6 separate regions of the Homo sapiens genome follow, and regions 1, 2, 3, 5 and 6 are each linked to region 4. Evidence: promoter capture Hi-C in 16 types of primary human blood cells and fetal thymus (Javierre and others, 2016). All regions are on one chromosome and are shown on one strand. Each heading gives the region's core, a stretch centred on a gene start or on the middle of the fragment in contact. The rest is flanking DNA. Distances are from core to core; before and after follow the strand shown.

The links. Contacts are between HindIII fragments. The CHiCAGO score rates a contact against its expected background, and 5 or more counts as called.
Region 1: a contact is called between a fragment that was not itself captured here and the fragment with the promoter of TC2N in region 4, in 1 of 17 cell types (naive CD4 T cells). The highest score is 5.7, in naive CD4 T cells.
Region 2: a contact is called between a fragment that was not itself captured here and the fragment with the promoter of TC2N in region 4, in 3 of 17 cell types (M1 macrophages, megakaryocytes and M2 macrophages). The highest score is 8.3, in M1 macrophages.
Region 3: a fragment that was not itself captured here is called in contact with the fragment with the promoter of TC2N in region 4 in 1 of 17 cell types (M1 macrophages); the score reaches 5.3 in M1 macrophages.
Region 5: a contact is called between a fragment that was not itself captured here and the fragment with the promoter of TC2N in region 4, in 2 of 17 cell types (M1 macrophages and M2 macrophages). The highest score is 7.3, in M1 macrophages.
Region 6: a fragment that was not itself captured here is called in contact with the fragment with the promoter of TC2N in region 4 in 1 of 17 cell types (non-activated CD4 T cells); the score reaches 5.2 in non-activated CD4 T cells.

Annotation. Positions count from the first base shown.
Region 1 is chr14:91,459,649-91,462,818 of GRCh38, forward strand. PPP4R3A (protein phosphatase 4 regulatory subunit 3A) reads right to left here. Exons shown (of 15, transcript NM_001366432.2): 12 at 3,087-3,170; 13 at 2,401-2,591; 14 at 1,733-1,959. Among named protein-coding and RNA genes, the nearest start is that of CCDC88C-DT, 43 kb to the left of the region's middle. The HindIII fragment of the contact is 201 bases long and covers 1,686-1,886 here.
Region 2 is chr14:91,532,044-91,534,931 of GRCh38, forward strand. The region is part of intron 2 of LOC101928957 (a long non-coding RNA gene); the gene reads right to left. Among named protein-coding and RNA genes, the nearest start is that of PPP4R3A, 23 kb to the left of the region's middle. The HindIII fragment of the contact is 2,688 bases long and covers 270-2,888 here.
Region 3 is chr14:91,580,194-91,583,072 of GRCh38, forward strand. CATSPERB (catsper channel auxiliary subunit beta) reads right to left here. Exons shown (of 27, transcript NM_024764.4): 27 at 505-914. The coding sequence ends at 696. Among named protein-coding and RNA genes, the nearest start is that of PPP4R3A, 71 kb to the left of the region's middle. The HindIII fragment of the contact is 1,052 bases long and covers 1,047-2,098 here.
Region 4 is chr14:91,865,878-91,868,950 of GRCh38, forward strand. It overlaps TC2N (tandem C2 domains, nuclear), which reads right to left and starts at 1,659. Exons shown (of 12, transcript NM_001128596.3): 1 at 1,385-1,659. RefSeq lists an enhancer at 1,825-1,874. The HindIII fragment of the contact is 17,848 bases long and covers 1,591-3,073 here.
Region 5 is chr14:91,549,960-91,552,765 of GRCh38, forward strand. All of the region lies in intron 2 of LOC101928957 (a long non-coding RNA gene), which reads right to left. Among named protein-coding and RNA genes, the nearest start is that of PPP4R3A, 41 kb to the left of the region's middle. The HindIII fragment of the contact is 2,976 bases long and covers 26-2,806 here.
Region 6 is chr14:91,419,529-91,422,566 of GRCh38, forward strand. CCDC88C-DT (CCDC88C divergent transcript) reads left to right here. Exons shown (of 3, transcript NR_184261.1): 2 at 1,421-1,595. It also overlaps the pseudogene LOC112268126. Among named protein-coding and RNA genes, the nearest start is that of CCDC88C-DT, 2.8 kb to the left of the region's middle. The HindIII fragment of the contact is 164 bases long and covers 1,465-1,628 here.

The sequences.
Region 1 (3,170 bases), core at 536-3,035, 410 kb before region 4:
ACATAGTGAAACCCTGTCTCTAATAAAATTACAAAAATTAGCCAGGTGTGGTGGTGCACATCTGTAATCCCAGCTACTTGGGAGGCTGAGGCACAAGAATCGCTTTAATCTGGAAGGTGGAGATTGCAGTGAGCTAAGATCACGCCACTGCACTCCAGCCTGGGTGACAGACTGAGACTCTGTCAAAAAAAAAAAAAAGTACCAAAATGAAAACTGCAGCAGATAAAGAGACCACCAGAAATGAGGGTAGACAGGCTTTTTCTATTTATTAGAGGTTAGGAAAGCAGTTCTACCCTGACTCTTCCTCATCATTTCATCTGGGTTTCCTTTTAGCCCTGCTCCTTCACCAGAAACCACTGCCGCTTGCTTTATTTATTTTTTGAGATGGAGTCTCACTCTGTCGCCCAGGCTGGAGTGCAGTGGCGCCATCTCAGCTCCCTGCAAGCTCCACCTCCCGGGATCACACCATTCGCCTGCCTCAGCCTCCTGAGTAGTTGAGACTACAGGCGCCCGCCACCACACGCGGCTAATGTTTTTGTATTTTTAGTAGAGACGGGGTTTCACCGTATTAGCCAGGATGGTCTCGGATCTCCTGACCTCGTGACCCACCCCCCTGGACCTCCCAAAGCACTGGGATTACGGGCGTAAGCCACCGCGCCTGGCTGCTGCTTGCTTTATTTCGATGCTAAGGGAAAAATTCACACTGCTCTGCTCTCAAGCCTGCCTCTTCATTTCAGCGTGTCTCAGATTCACTTCTTAGCCGTCAGGAGTCTCCAGCTCACGCCAGAAAAAAAAAAGACTGAATGGGCATTACGTGTCTGATTTAGATCAGTGATTCCCAAATGCCAGTCTTTTAACTGCTAGTCTGCTAGCCCAATAATCAATATATTATGTCTCAAAAGAAAAGGGTGGTTGGCATAAGGAGCCCCCAAAACTGGTTTTATTCTGAGATTGCATGTTTTCTACATTTTTTCTTAAGATTTTGTTCCTTTTTTTTTTTTTTTTTTTGAGATGGAGTCTCGCTGTTGCAGTAGCGATCTCAGCTCACTGCAAGCTCCGCCTCCCAGGTTCATGCCATTCTCCTGCCTCAGCCTCCAGAGTAGCTGGGACTACAGGCGCCCGCCACCACGCCTGGCTAATTTTTGTATTTTTAGTAGAAACGGGGTTTCACCACGTTAGCCAGGACGGTCTCGATCTCCTGACCTCGTGTCCTGCCCGCCTCAGCCTCCCAAAGTGCTGGGATTACAGGCGTGAGCCACCGTGCCCAGCCCTTGTTCATTTCTTATATGAAATGTTAGTGATAGTAGATGTTTAATTTTCTTAACAAACCTTAACTGGCAAAGTAAAGTTAGAAGTACCCAGATATTTAGATTATCATTTCCCCACAAAGGCTTTATCTGGGTATTAGTTAGGAACATTTATTCAAGAATAACTGAAAACCTTGAACATTTCTGTAAATGTTTTGACATACAAATTTGAAGTTTCAGTTCTAAAATCCAAAATACCCAAGTGAGAATTCACACTATATGCAGACTTGCATTGGTCATAAAAAAAACTTTCAGAAATTTCTCAACCTTTATATAAGTTCAAGCGGTGGGGGGGACTCATCCTCTAGTTCAGGGATGTTAAATCAGTTCTAGGTGGCAGTAACCAAAGGGAATCTTAGTCAAAATTATTGTTGAGAAAGCTTCAATTGGGAAAAAAGGGGGCAAAATGGGAGTCAAGAATGTACCTTTGTAGTAATAGCTGCCGTCTGAGATGTATTTTTAGGTACGGATCCAGGAGAGCCTGGAGATCCTGGGGATCCAGGTGATCCCGGAGAACCAGGCAGATTTGTTGTAGATGACTGGCTGGTGAGGTTAGTCTTCGTTCCACTGGACAGGGAAAGCTTGAAACTTGGGCTCTGCCGTCCAGAAAGGTTTGTTTTCAGAAGCACTTCCTTTTCCTCACTTTCTTTTACTAAAAATGAGAATACTGTCAATAGTCGTCCCCCATACTTCTTTTTTAAATTTCCCCAAATGAGGTAACACTAAAACACATTTAACTAGCTTACTACGCTGGGTAGAAACATTGAAGTTCAATTTATAAAAGAAGCTTACCAAAATACTAACCACAATTCCATTCATTGGATCTTACCCCAGAGAAGAATTGAAACCTTCAGAATCATATTTAGTATCCCTACCCTTCCTGAAATAGTATATTCCTTATTCAACTCAAATTAAGAAAACTTAAGTTTATGCCTACACAACACTGCTATTCAGTCACATCCCATAAAGCAATAGAGTCTTTAAACCGTATGCCATCACACCTTCCAAGCAAATAATCATTTTGTCAAGAAATAAGAATAAATCTAGAGTAAGAAAGCCTTAATTTTCTCTTGCCCATTTTTTTCCAACATACATTTCTTCCTTTCCATGAATTTACTTATTGGATCCATAATATCATCATCATTTTTAGTTTTGTCAGATGGAGACACTACAGCTTCTCCATCTTCCATGTCATCTTCATCTGTGTTAAACCACATCTCTTCTTCATCTTCTAGTGTTCTGGCATCTCTTCGATATCTGTGATTCCTCAAAATGGAACGCATACTATGAGTAGGGAAGAAAGAGTAAATACAATCATATATGGACTTAATTGTACTGTTACAGATGACTTATTAAACTTGTTAACATAGGGAATTAACATGAAATTTACAAATATTAAAGTATCAATGTAAATCCAGGTATTTAGATTAATGTACAAAATTTTAAATAATAATTTGTAACCTTAGTAACTTGTAAATTCAAAGCAAGTAATATAATCCTCTGATTTTATTTGGAACACATGAAGCCTCACTTCCACTGTTTGGTCTTTTTTTTTTTTTTTCCCTTATCTAGCCTGATACATGCCTGAGGTATTATACTAATAACCAGCCTAATCTTCAGGGAAACATTTATGTTGACCCTTACAGGAAGCTACAATTTCTATTTGCTATCTGCTGATTTCCCTGTTCCTTGTCAAGCCAAATAATATCAAATAAACAATAAAGCCACTACCATACGACTTGATGCTGAACGAATAGGTTTAAATATATGGTAATTTACCTGTCAAGTTTGGGATTATCTTGCCTTTCTCTTTGTTGTTCAAATCTCAGTTTTAATCCTTTAAATGTCTGTACATAATCTACA
Region 2 (2,888 bases), core at 364-2,863, 330 kb before region 4:
CTAGAGGAAATGGAGACTATCCTTAGAAAAGAAAACTGCTACAAACCTATCAATGTTCTCTGAGACAGAAGATGTGGCACCCATGAAACCAAATGGAGGGTTTTATAAAGAAAGGAACATTCAGAGAACAAAAGAGAGGTCTTGGAAATTAGAAGTATAGTAACAAAAATGAAAAATTCAACAGATGGTACGAAACAGAAGCTGAGGATAGCTCCTGAAAGTAGAGCAAGAGGATGTATATAGGAGGAAAGTGATAAGAAAATCAGAGAAGCTTACAGGTAGAACAAAGCCAGAATATTAGGAGTTACAGGGAGAACAGAGACAATGGAAGGAAGACAATTATTAATCACATGATTCAAAAAGATTTCTCAGAATTGAGGGATGTGAACTTGTACACAGAAAGGTCCACCACAGTGTCCAGAGCCCATGACATGGATATAGAACAAAAACAAAGCCCACCAGGCCAGATGTGGTGGCTCATGCTTGTAATCCCAGCACTTTGGGAGGCCGAGGCGGGTGGATCACTTGAGGTCAGGAGTTTGAGACCAGCCTGGCCAACATGGTGAAACCTCGTCTCTACCAAAAACAGAAAAAAATTAGCGGGCACAGTGGCATATGCCTGTAGTCCCAGCTCCTCTGGAGGCTGAGGCAGGAGAATCACTTGAACTCAGGAGGCAGAGGTTGCACTGAGCCAAGATCGCGCCACTGCACTCCAGCCTGCATGACTGACTGGAGTGAGACTCCATCTCCAAAAAAAAAAAACAAACAATGAAACAAAACACGAAGCCCACCAGTATGAAATGTCATAACACTAGGGACAATGGAAAGATATTTAAATCTTTCCTTACAGAAGAATCAGACAAAATAATGGCACTGGGCTTCTCAATGGTAATACTGCAAGCTAAGGGACAAAGGAGCAATGCTTTTGAAATTTTGAGGAGAAGTGGTTTCAAGTAGAGAATTATATACGCAGCCAAACTATGAATCCAGTGGTAAGTAAATAAAGACATTTGCATACACGAACAATCTCAAAACACCGGCCACCCATCTATTTTTTCTTTGAAAGTTACTGGAGGACGTGTTCCACTAAAATAAGGTATTATATTAATAAAGTAGAATATATGAGAGCCGGGAAACAGAAGATCCATTAGAGGGAGACAAAATAGTGAACAGTGCATAGAGAACTAAGTGAAAACAAGGACATGTATTAACACCAAGAACAAGAAAATGTTATCAGGGAAGAAAAAGAAATGTGGCTGTACCGTGAATTTGGCTAACATTTCCATAATAACACCAACAGTGAATCTGACTCAACTATTCTATTTTTTGAGATGGAATCTCACTCTGTCACCCAGGCTGGAGTGCAGTGGCGTGATCTCGACTCACTGCAACCTCCACCTCCCGGGTTCAAACAATTCTCTTGCCTCAGTCTCCTGAGTAGCTGGTATTACAGGCAAGTGCCACCACGCCCGGCTAATTGTTTTTGCGTTTTTAGTAGAGACAGGGTTTCACTATGTTGCCCAGGCTGATCTCGAACTCCTGGGCTCAAGTGATCTGCCCGCCTCAGCCTCCCAAAGTGCTGGGATTACAGGGATAAGCCACCACGCCTGGCTTAAGCTATTTTATTTTACTTTATTTTAATTTTTAGAGACCAAGTCTTGCTCTGTCACCCAGGCTGGAGTACAGTGGCATGATCATAGCTCACTATAGTCTTGAACTCTTGGCTCAAACTATTGCATGAGATCCTCCCACCTCAAGCCTCCCACTGACTAAACTCTTCATAAAACTTTCATGTGGGAGGATGAGAAGAGTGAGTGTTTATGTATGGCGGTGATAGTAGGGCTTAGAAAAGACCTAAATCCTCGTCTTTCATAGTGGAATGTTAATAGATTATACTTTTTTTTTTTAAACTTTAAGTTCAGGGGACATGTGCAGATTTGTTACACAGGTAAAGCTGGGGGTTTATTGTACAGATTGTTTCATCACCCAGGTATTAAGCCTGGCACCCATTAGTTATCTTTCCTGATCCCCTCCCTCTTCCCATCCTCCATCCTCTGACAGGCCGTTTTTCCCCTCTAGGCGTTCACGTGTTCTCATCCTTTGGCTCCCACTTATAAGTGAGATCATGAGGTATTTGGTTTTCTGTTCCTGCTTTAGTTTGCTAAGGATAATGGCCTCCAGCTCCATCCATGTCGCTGCAAAAGACATGATCTCATTCATTTTTATGGCTGCATAGTATTCCATAGTGTATATGTACCACATTTTCTTTATCCAGTGTACCATTGATGGATATTTAGGTCGATTCCATGTCTTTGCTATTGTGAATAGTGCTGCAATGAACATACACATACCTGTGTCTTTATGATAGAACAATTTACTTATAACTTAAAAAAAAATGGCAGTATAAGTCCAGGCACCATGGCTCATGCCTGTAATCCCAGCACTTTGTGAAGCTGCGGTGGGTAGATCAATTGAGCCCAGGAGTTTGAGACCAGCCTAGGTAATGTGGCAAGACCCGGCTCTAAAAAAAAAAAAAAAAAAAAAAAATTAGCCAGGCATGGTGGCATGTGCCTGTAGTCCTAGCTACTTGGGAAGCCCAGGAGATTGAGGCTGCAGTGAGCCAAGATCGCACCACTTCACTCCAGCCTGGGCAAGAGAGTGAGACCCTGTCTCAAAAAAAAAAAAAAAAAAAAAAAAAAATAGCAGTGTAAGCAGGTTATTTAGAGATTCCGAGGCAAATGTCCAAATAAACAGTTAAAACAATTTTATGTGGTTGCCTCTGAAGAAAGGGAAATGGAAGAGGGATATGTACAGGGAACTGTTAGATTTTATAATAATTTAGGATTATTTGACTTTCTGAAGTATGTGCAGGGATACATTTAATGAAA
Region 3 (2,879 bases), core at 323-2,822, 290 kb before region 4:
TCCCCTTCTGAGCTTTTCCAGGGAGCATGAGGCTCTGATCTCTGAATGTTATGGTCATCTTCTGACTATCTGGGGACATTTACTTTGAGAGCACACAGAGATATAGCTTTTGGAATTCTCCATGCTGCATGTAGGTTTATAAACCAATACCCTGCTCAGACACCGCGTTCTTCTAACACCCTAATGATGGGGTCACATTTCTCTCTTTAGGTACTACAATCTGGTTTTGAAGTTGCCCAAAGAAACTTGAATGGCTTCCTCTTTCATTCCCACAAGGCTCTGAAAACACTGCTGCTGATCCGCTGTCTTCACTCCTATCTCACCCTGGCATAACTGCACTCTACTCAAACTCTATCTGGAAGGAGCAGAGCTCAGGGGTTCTGACCCCACAGAATGGGCTCCAGGCACTAAGAGCTGAACAACACAGAACACCTGTTCCATGTCGAGTTGGTTATCATTTTATACTTTTCTAAAAACCTCAAGGAAGATCTTCAACATAAGCCCTGGCATAAGACATTTTCTATGTATTCAAAATAAGAAAAGGAAATGGTGAATATATTGACAAGTAGCAATTTGAATTATAATGACAATTCTTTAGGATTTTATGTAGCTTGCATATTTAACATTTAAATATATTGTTCTAGGAATTGGCTGATAAAACTAGAAAATAAAGAGAAATTATGATCACCATGTGTTCACTCTTCAGACTTTGATCTATGAATCAGCTCACTGAGAGAGATACTTGAAAACTTCTCTTGGTTTCTTCTAATCCATCTTTGGAATGTCCTCCACGGATGGATGCCTTGCAGTTGAAACATAAATGCTATAAAAATTAATCCCCCTAGCACTACCGCTGTTGCCACGGCAATAAGCGTGTGTCCTGGGAATGGCAATGGTGCCTCATCAACATAAATCTGCAACAGAAAAAGCAAAGTCTTTAAGCTTTCTGAATTTAGCAATGCAAAACACTGAAAATTTAATGTTCCCCACAATTAATCGGAGAGCAAAACGCTGCCCAGAGTTACAAAGACATTCAGCATCCACAAAGCTTGGAAACAGTCTCTTGACAGTTGAACAAGTAACAATTTGCCTACAATAAATAGGGGCTAAGAAGTCCATGTATTATCCTATGCCTTTACCCTGTCTTTAATGGTGGAAGGAGGCAGATAAAATGCTTATACAGCAGAACATTCTCTGTTCAGTCTCAGAGGAATGGGCAAAGAGCTCTGGGAATGTGGAGGAGGGAATGCCTACCTGCCTAGGGCAGTCAGGGAATGCGCTTTCTGAGCTGGATCATGACGAATAAGTAGGTTCACAGAAGAGAAGGAGATAAAGGAACATTCCAGGTAGAGGCATATGTCTGTGCTCTTTCAAGTTACCACCTCTTTAGAAAATCCTCTTTGTAGGTGCTGCCAGTATAGGTAACTTTTTATGTATTCAAAATGTTTCCTCTGCATGAATAGCTAATTAACAGAAGCAAGTAAATTTCTGGAGGACAGATAGGATTATTGACAGAGAGGGACAGTGATGTCTTTTTCTCTGAGATGTGAGGCAAGGGTGGGGTCATTGTATGTTAAATATAGAAGTGGGGCATAAAGAGAGTAGGGGGTTCAAGCCCAGGCTTATGTTTCCTTTGTGAAGCAGGAAGCCAGATCGTCTTTTGTGGGAGAAGAACGTGCTGATGAATGGAACTAGGACAGTAGGGAATGTGGGAAAGTGCAAAGGACAAGAAAAAGGATGACAGGCTGCTTTAAGGTCTAGCTCAAGTTAAAGGTACCACCATCCTCCCAGTGACCCAAGGAGGTAGCTGATTTCTTAGAAACAGTCCCTCCATGCTATACATTCTCTAAAATTCCCCTCACATTCATTCTTTCCATTCTTTCAGTACTGCTACTGTGATTATTGTGCCACTTTTCATAAATAGGCTACTCTAGTAGCCTCCTTCCCAGCCCACCAGTCCGTGTTGACATCCTAACATTGCCAGATTTATCTTTGTATAAAACACCAGTCTGTGTATAAACACCTTTTTCCAAAAATGTTTAATAGCTTTTCATTGTTGACAGGAATGTTGACAGGAATGTTGACAGGAGTGTTCTAAAGCTTTCACTCTGACATTCAAAGCCTTCCACAATTGGACCCTAACCTACCTGGCTTTCTTCTAAATAACCTTATATTCCAGCCAAATGGATTTGAGCTATTCAAAAAGCAAACTTTATGCTTTTGATTGTGACAGGAGGCAGTCAAATGCCTAGGCAGATAGGGGTGGGTCGCCGGTGAAACCTGACCTTCAAGCTGAAGGCAGTCCCAGGTAAATCCACATACCGAATTCAGAACCTGTCTTCCTGTTTGGCGTGCTTTCCTCTGACTGATCCCACCCTTCAACTGTTTTACATATACCTACCCTTCCTAATTGGTTTTCTACACTGCTGTGCCCACCTTTGAGTGGTACCTTTGCTTTAGCCTTTCTTTGCTTACTCATAAGCCAGTCAGCACACTCTCCCCTATTCTGAGTGCATAAAGGCCCCACTCAGCCACACTGGCAAAGAAACCACCTGACTGCAGGGGTGAGGGACCACACCCTACGTCCCCTGTCTGCTGAGAGCTGTTCCATCACTCAGTAAAATTATTCTTTGCCCTCCTCACTCTTCAATTGTTAGTGTTTCCTCATTATACTTGGATGCAGGACAGGAACATGGGTACACACTACAACATAGTTGGGACAAGTGGGCAGGGTGCCTCCAGTGGCAGGCTCAGGGCTGAGCAAGGCCCAGGTGGAGGATGTCACCAGCTGTGGAGGTCCCCGGTTGGCAAAGTGGCCAAGAAAAGTCCTGCATCACTTTCCCATATCTGTACCTGGTCTCTCCATCCAGAATGCCTTC
Region 4 (3,073 bases), core at 409-2,908:
TAAAAAGTTATTAAAGTTTTAGATTAACTTTTTATAAAGTTTTAATAACTTTTAAAGTTATTAAAAAGTTATTAAAGGTGTTATTAAAAAGGTGTTATTATAAAGTTATCGGTGGACTGTCTATCCTGTTCATGTCTCTGAATCCAGCAACCGGCTTAACCAAAGTGGATTCTTAACCAAAGTATGTGATCCTCTCAAGACAAAGACCTTTTACAAACAATATTTCATCTGGCAAGAGGGGAGTAGAGGAGAGTTCCTTTGTCAAGTCTTCTCTCTGTGGGTGACCCCGTTGGCTCAGAATGAACAACTTGGGCACATTACAGTAACCACCCAGGCCACAAAAATGCGTTGAAACCACTGAAAATGAAATAATCAGACCTACTTAAATGTTTTTACCATCTGGGCAAATAACACCCCAAGGGCCAAGACTTACCTAAGAAAGTGTCTGAAGTATGTTACCCAAGCCTGAGAGGCAACAGGTAGGTGGATTTTGTGCCAATTAGAAAGTGTTATGATTGGCAAACCACTGCAAAACTCTGAAATTGCAGTGAAATGGAAATGCTGGCTGTCATCCCCAAAGTACATTTCAAGGAATCACAAAACTTCAGAATTAGAAGCAATTATTTAGGATGAACGTTTTCACCCACATGAAAGTTGGAAGATGAGGTGGTAACACGAGAGCTTTTGCAGGCGTCCCTACTCTTAATCCTGCGCCCCTTCCACCTTGGTACCCTTCATTCTTCAGGACCTGATGGAGTGGTACAAAGCAGAGGTCACTTGACAAGCTCAGCCCAGCTCCTGGATGGGGCAAAGCTGACAAGGAATAGGCACAGGGAGCCTGGAGATCTCAGGGTCCAGGAAACAGCCTGCCCCATTAGAACTGCACAGCAGAGCACAGCACTGGGATCAGAGAGCAGGCTCATCCCCAGTCTTGTACAAAAAATAACATTTGATGATTCCCAAGGGGTAGGTAAAGCAAGTAGCATTTGGGGTTCCAGCAGCCTCTAGAACTGTTTCCCAAATGTTTGGAGCTTGACTTTGCAGTATACACTTTGCCCTGGACTGTTTTTCTCTTAATTTTTAGGCCCAAGTGTATTTTAAGGTAAATGGATCCCACATGCCTCTGGTGCATTTACACTGAACCCATCAGACCACATTTTGAAAGCGCAATTTGAGGTCCAAGAAGCCCTTGGAGGCTGCTTTTATGAGCCTGAGTTTCTTTTCTTAGAAGCAGGAAGCCACATTTTGACATGAACAAATAAAACACAAACCTTAAAGACTCGGATCTGGTTCCAAATGTGGCACCTCTGAAACCAGTGGGTCCTCAAATCATCAAGACAGAAAGCTTCCCAGTTTTCTTTTTGAGAAGTTCATGGAGACTTACCCCTGTGTTCTGTTGAGCCCAGAGGCAGTGGTTCGGAGGCGCTCGGTGCAAAGCTCACGTAAACCTTCAGCATTTCTGATTCCATCCTTCTTCCCAGCCCCTGAGTCTCCCTACACAGCAGGGACCCAGGCTCACTGCTGCCTTCTGGCCTTTGCTTTTCGGAGCCGAGCTGAGTGAGTCCCAAGGGAATCACCCTCTGTTTTATAAGCTTTGAAACCAGAGCATCCTGAGCCATTTGGTGCTGATGTGATTGCTAACACCACTTGACCCTGACTGAAGAACCACAACTAGGCATGGTTTAGATGTGCTTAGTTAGAGAAAAAAATAACCACAGCCAACAGCAAAGTGAGGTGTGTGGTGTGGGTGTGAGAAATGCTCTTGGGGTGAGGAGGGAGGACTTGCAGCTTCTTGGATGCTACAGGGCGTGGAACATGCTGTTTCCTTCCACTGAAGGCCTAAGATACTACTAAGTGGAACAGGAGAATTCCCTGGCCCCCTCACAGGATGTGCAACAGGGGTGTGGCTCTCTCTTCAGCCACCCCAAGCTAAAACCCCTTATGGGAAGGGGAGCACGCAGACAGGCAGGTGCAGGAACCAGGGTGAGCACTTTTGGGCCCCAGCCCCATGACAGCATCCCGGGGTCGGTGTCTGTGACTTCCAAAGCCCGAGTAGGCACTGAAACAGTGCAGTCTTTCAGCCTTGCCATCCGTGGACAGCTTAAGCGTTAACCAGCTTAGTGGACCCTCTCCCTTTTTGCCAGGGCAGAGGGCCAGTGTGACAGTTTCCTGTATCCCGAGCTCTTGTCCAGCATCCCGGAGGGATCAGGTCACACATGGATTTGCAGGATGAATGCAGGGGTTTTATTGAGTGGTGGAGGTGGCTCTAAGTAGGATGGATGGGGAGCTGGACAGGGGATGGAGTGGGAAGATGATCTTCCCCTGGAGTTTGGCCATCCAGTGGCCAGTTTTCAGATCGTCTCCAGTCGAATTCCTCCCAATGTTCCTTCTCTTCTCTCCTTCTTTGCCGTGCTTTTCTGCCATTCATGTCTGCTCATCTTCTTGTCTCCCCGTCTGCTTCTGGAGCCTGGAGCCTGGGGTTCAGGGTTTATATGGGTACAGGATAGGGGACATGGCAGGCCAAAAGGCAACTTTTTAGGGATGAAAACAGGAATGGCTGTCCTCATTTAGGGCCATGGGTACCCAGGCTTGAGGGTGGGGCCTTTGCCAGGGAACCACCCTCTTCTACCCAGTATTTCCCTGTCTCCTGTCCATATCACAAGGATCTGTGGAATGCCTACTAAGACTAGGGGTCCAGGACACAACTCCTGATAGGCACTGTGGGGGTCCTTAATGAATACCTCACCAACAGGTAGGATGGGAGCACCCTCAGATGGATCTGTAGACTCCACCTCAGCTATCAGGGAGTGCACTTTTTTCCTGAAGCCTTGGGTTGATTCCTGGGATGGCACATAAAGACAGCCATCCCAACCTGTTCTCCTGTGACTTGCAATGTTGACTCTCTTGGCCCCTGCACAGGGTTCTAAGACTTGAAGGATGTCCAGAGGCCCTGACCAGGAAAAGAATAATGTATCCTACAATGAGCAGAAAAGACATTGAGGGCAAGGCAGCTAGGGCTCCAGCCCCATCTGTCCACCTCTCTTTCTAGGGTTTATAACAATACATTCTCAAC
Region 5 (2,806 bases), core at 264-2,763, 320 kb before region 4:
GACAGACCAAAAACCAACACATCAAAGCTTCAAAAACTTTGGGAAAGGGTGAGATTAAGAACAAGCACATTTGGCTTATAGTAAATGAACTGATTTTTATTAACTGCTTTTGTCCATATAAAATGCTGATATTTACTGGAAACCTAGCCACCTTCATAATTATGATAAAAGTGCCAGGTTATAATCCAGAAGATAATATGCAGGCAATAGCAGATATCTCTGACAAAGTATGTCTCAAAACTGATTATATATATATATATACACACACACACACGTATATATTTTTATTTATTTTTTGAGACAGGGTCTTGCTGTGTTGCCCAGGCTGGAGGGCAGTGCCATAATCTCAGCTCACTGCAACCTCCACCTCCTGAGTTTAAGTGATTCTCGTGCCTCAGCCTCCTGAGTAGCTGGGATTACAGGCATGCGCCACCACGCCCAGCTAACTTGTGTTTTTAGTAGAGATGGGGCTTCACCATGTTGTCCAGGCTGGTCTGGAACTCCCGACCTCAAGTGATCCACCTACCTCGGCCTCCCAAAGTGCTGAGATTACAGGCATGCGCCACCGTGCCTGGGTGCATTTATTTTTTAAACATTAGAGGCAGGGTCTTGCTATGTTGCCCAGGCTGATTTTGAACTCCTGGGCTCAAGCGATCCTCCTTTCTCAGCCTTCCAGGTAGCTGGGACTACAGTACAAATTTAATTAATTAATTAATTATTTGTATAGAGTCGAGGTCTCTCTATGTTGCCCAGGCTGGTCTTGAACTCCTGGGCTCAAGGGACCCTCCTACCTTGGTCTCCAAAAGTGCTGGGATTGCAAGTGTGAGCCACTGTGCCCGGCCTACAGTACAAATTTTAAATGGTTGTATCTTCCTGGTTAATTGACCTTTTATTATTATAAAGTGACTATCATTATCTCTGGTATTGGTTTTTGCCCTAAAGTCAATTTGATCTGATATCATTATGGTCAAACCAACTATCCTATTGCTAATATTTGCTTAGTACTGTATATCTACTTAGAACTCTACAGGACATTCTTTTTCTTGTTTAATACATTTGGAGTTACCCACTTATTGTTACCTATTTTACCTTTATTTTTTTTCTCCCAACTCGGACCCTTCATATGGGATCATTTTCCTTTTGCCAGAAATGCTTCTTTTATAATTTCCTATAGTGGATTTTGATCCTGGCAAACTCTCTTAGCTTTTATTTGTCTAAAAATATTTCCATTTTTCTCTCATTCTTAATAGACATTTTTTTAATTGACATAGAATTCAATATATTTGTTTTTCTTTAGCTTCACTATTTCACTTTTTATTTATATTTCTTAGGTTTTCTTCTTTTTCTTTTCTTTCTTTCTTTTTTTTTTGTTTGTTTAGAGACAAGGTCTCACTCTGTTGCTTAGGCTGGAGTGCAGTGGCTCAATCATAGCTCATCGCAGTCTTGAATTTCTGGGCTCAGGCAATTCTCCTGCCTTAGTCTCCTGGGTAGCTAGGACGGCAGGTGTGTGTCATCATGCCTGGCTAATATTTAAAAATATTTTATGTAGAGATGGGGTCTCACTATGTTGCCCAGGCTGGTCTTGAACTTTTGTCCTCAACAGATCATCTTGCCTCAGCCTCCCAAAGTGTGATTACAGGCATGAGCCATCACACCCAGCCTACATAACTAATACACATTATTTACTTGAATCTTATTTCTTCCTAGTAGGGTTCAGCTTCACTCACCTTGGTTACATGGATGTCATCACCTGAATGCTTTGTATCAACAATTGTTTTAAACATGAAAAGCAGTTGTAGTAAAATTAAAACCTTGCATTTCATTCCCAGATGTTCTATTAACTTAAGTTGTAGGGATAGCGGGGGTGCACCAAGATTCTAATGGGTTTAATATAATCAAAACACTTGTTCACTGTATGTTTATTGAGTTTCTCATTTAAATCAATCAATGGATTAATGCTTACATAATATTGCCATAAAATTTAGACTGCTAAATGACATGTTGATATTGATCCATTGATTGATTTAAATGAGAAACTCAATAAACGTACAGTGAACAAGTATTTTCCGTTGTCATCCTGTCCAGGCACAGTGGCTCACCCCTGTAATCTCAGCACTTTGGGAGGCCACAGCAGGAGGATCTCTTGAGCTCAAGAGTTCAAGACCAGCCTGGGCAACATAGGGAGACTTTGTCTCTACAAAAAAATTTTTAAAAAGTTGTCATCCTTTTAGTAGCCTGTCTATGAATGATAAGAATTTATATTCAGTAACTGTTTCAATATGTGACACAGCAGGAAGGCTGCCATCTGCAAGCCAGGAAGAGAGAACTCACCAGAAACCAAATCAGCTGGCATCTTGATTTGGACTTCCCTGCCTCCAGAACTGTTAGCAATAAATGTTGATTGTTTAAGCTACCCAGTGTATGGTATTTAGTTATGGCAGCCCAAGGAGACCAATATGTGTGAAATTTTTCATATTTAACTGAAGATTTAACTGTTAACTTGAGAATATTTTACTTAAGGAAAAGAAAAAAGAAAAACAAAGAACAAAAAACAAACAACTCCCCAGAGAGACTCTATGGAAATGTTGCAACTTCTAAAAAGGAGTTTAATTCACATATACAGTATATGGGATTCTTTATAAGATTATCATATTTCAATTTATCTGTGGATATGATGGCTCATAGGTTAGTCTGTGTTTAAAGGGTTTTCCATAATAAAACATATTTTCATTTTTATACCAACAAGAATAATTTCACATCCTGTAGGTCTCCAGTTAAAAAATGATTGTTATTTTCTTATACTACA
Region 6 (3,038 bases), core at 297-2,796, 450 kb before region 4:
CAAGTTCAAGATTTTACCAAATGTTGCAAGAACTCTGGAATCCTTATGGTAGTAAAATGCTGGAAAGAAAATTCTGCATTGAAAGAATGTCTTAACAGCTCACTATAATGACCCAGCCTTTTATGAATAATGCAAAGTGGAAAACCTGAAGGAAAAGGAAGAATTCAGAAAAACTGGAATTTCTACAAAGAAAAGTCTACAGAAGCTGCCCACAAGTGTGTAGACAAATATTCAGATGACATTCAGGATCTCTAATACTCATGGAAGTCGTTTATAGAATAAACCTTAAATAATGGACTCAAGAATGTGTGTTTGCTAATTATGTGTGTATCCTAATTATGGAAATATTAATTTTATCTGAAATAAAAATCTTTTTTTCTTTTCTCTTTTTTTTTTTTTTTTTTTTTTTTGAGACAACAGAGTCTCACTCTGTTGCCCAGGCTGGAGTGCAGTGGCGTGCTCTCTGCTCACTGCAACTCCGCCTCCCGGGTTCGCGCCATTCTCCTGCCTCAGCCTCCAGAGTAGTTGGGACTGCAGGCGCCCACCACCACGCCCGGCTAATTTTTTGTATTTTTTACTAGAGACGGGGTTTCACCGTGTTAGCCAGGATGGTCTCTATCTCCTGACCTCGTGATCCGCCTGCCTCGGCCTCCCAAAGTGCTGGGATTACAGGCGTGAGCCACCGCGCCCGGCTAAAAATCTTTTATTTAAAAAAGTTCCTTAATTGCTCATAATGTAAGTTAGTTCAAAAATAGGTATGATGTGTACACACACCGCTCTTCGCTCGGAAGCCTCTCTTCTGAAAAGTAAGGGATGCAGATGCGGCCAAAGTTGTTTTTCCAATTTTTTTGGAAAGACAAGGATGAGGAATCTTTAAAGTTATTTATTGAGGCCGGGTGCAGTGCCTCACACCTGTAATCCCAGCACTTTGGGAGGCCTAAGTAGGTGGATCACTTCAGCCCAAGAGTTCAAGACCAGCCTGGCCAAAAAAAATAGAAAAATTAGCTGGGTGTGGTGGTGCACACCTGTGATCCCAGCTACTCTGGAGGCTGAGAATCACTCGAACCCGGGAGGGGAAGGTTGCAGTGAGCTGCTATTGCACCATTGCACTCCAGCCTGGGTGACAGAGCAAGACTCTGTCTCAAAAAAAAAAATTTATTGAGTAAGCTTATTCTTTCACACTAAGAAATACAGTGGACAAATGCCTTCTGACAGTTGTGAGACTTTTCCCATCCTGGTGAGGGAATTTTCCCCTGGGGACATTGACAAGGCCCTGGGCCACAGCCATGTCAGGAATGTTTGCTTTGGGGTCAGTTAGCTGCTGTGTTGGTTCATAATCATTGATGTATCTGCTACCATGCCTTGGCTTGACTACGCCACCAGGATTAAAAGGATCTAACTCAGCTCCCTTGTTCCCTAGGAGGCAATGGGGCAGGCAAACTGGATGGTGCCCCAGGTGTAGCAAGCTTGGAAGGCTTCAAAGGACGGGACAAGTTTGGCCTGGACAAGTTTCCTCCTAGAAGTCACTTAATCTGCAAAATCAAGATAAGACCATTTTCCCCATGTGACTTGACAAGACAATATTAAAGCTCAAGGTGATGCATGTAAAAAGATTGTGGAAGCCATAAAGCTTTATAGAGATACATAATCACTGTCTCTTCCTCATCTCCTGCCCCATTCTGCTACCCTTGCTTTAATAAAAATTGTTTCCCCGAAGTCTCCGTCGGGCTGGGGCATAAGCTTCAAGGAGCAAATGCACAGACCCTCCACTGACCACTACACAGAGAGTCCCAATGCCCCTCCTCCATCCTTCCAGAACACCCTTGGCTTTCACTCCATCCATCTGAGCCTTAACTCTTTATTTTTAAGTTTTTCCTTGTTAATCTCTGGATATAAATGTATCTATTGCTTAATACATTGCTTCCTGGGTAGAAGCAGTATTTTGTGTTCTTCTGATAAAGGAATTTTCTACCCTCTCAGAAAATACTGACTCAGCAGTGTTAGCTAATGGCATTTCTACTTCACCTGATAGGAGCAGGAGCTTAAATTGTTACTACAACTTGGGGTGGGGAGAGGGAATGGCTATTTTTTTTTTTTTTCGAGACTGAGTCTTGCTCTGTCACCCAGGCTGGAGTGCAGTGGCGCAATCTTGGCTCACTGCAACCTCTGTCTCCCAGGGGTCAAGCTATCTCAGCTCACTACCATGCCGAGCTAATTTTTGTATTTTTAGTAGAGACAAGGTTTCGCCATGTTGGCCAGGCGGTTCTCAAACTCCTGACCTCAGGTGATCTGCCCGCCTCGGCCTCACAAAGTGCTGAGATTACAGGTGTGAGCCACTATGGCTGGCCACAAAATACTATATTCTATGATAGTTTTATATTCTGTCACAGATCTGACATTTTGGAACGTTCTTTTATTTACTTTATTTATTTATTTATTTATTTATTTTTGAGACAGAGTCTCGCTCTGTTGCCCAGGCTAGAAGTGTAATGGCTGAGCAATCATAGCTCACTGCAGCCTCAGTCTCCTGGGCTCACGTGATCCTCCTGCCTCAGGCTTCTTAGTAGCTGGGACTACAGGTGAGCCCCACCATGCCCGGATAATTTTTTTTTTAAATTTTTTAAATCTTAGTAGAGACAAGGTTGCTATGTTGCCCAGGCTGGTCTCAAACTCCTGAGCTGAAGTGATCCTCCTGCCTCGGCCTCCCAAAATGCTGGGATTACAGGCATGAGCCGCCATGCTGGGCTGGAACATTCTTAAAATATTGGAAATTAGGCTGGGCGAGGTGGCTCACGCCTATAATCCCAGCACTTTGAGAGGTCAAGGTGGGCAGACCACAAGTCAGGAGTTCGAGACCAGCCTGACCAACATGATGAAACCTCATTTCTACTAAAAATACAAAAATTAGCCAGGCGTGGTGGCGTGCACCTGTAATCCCATCTACTCAGGAGGCTGAGGCAGGAGAATCGCTTGAACCCTGGGGGCGGAGGTTGTAGTGAGCTGAGATTGCGCCACTGCACTCCAGCCTGGGTGACAGA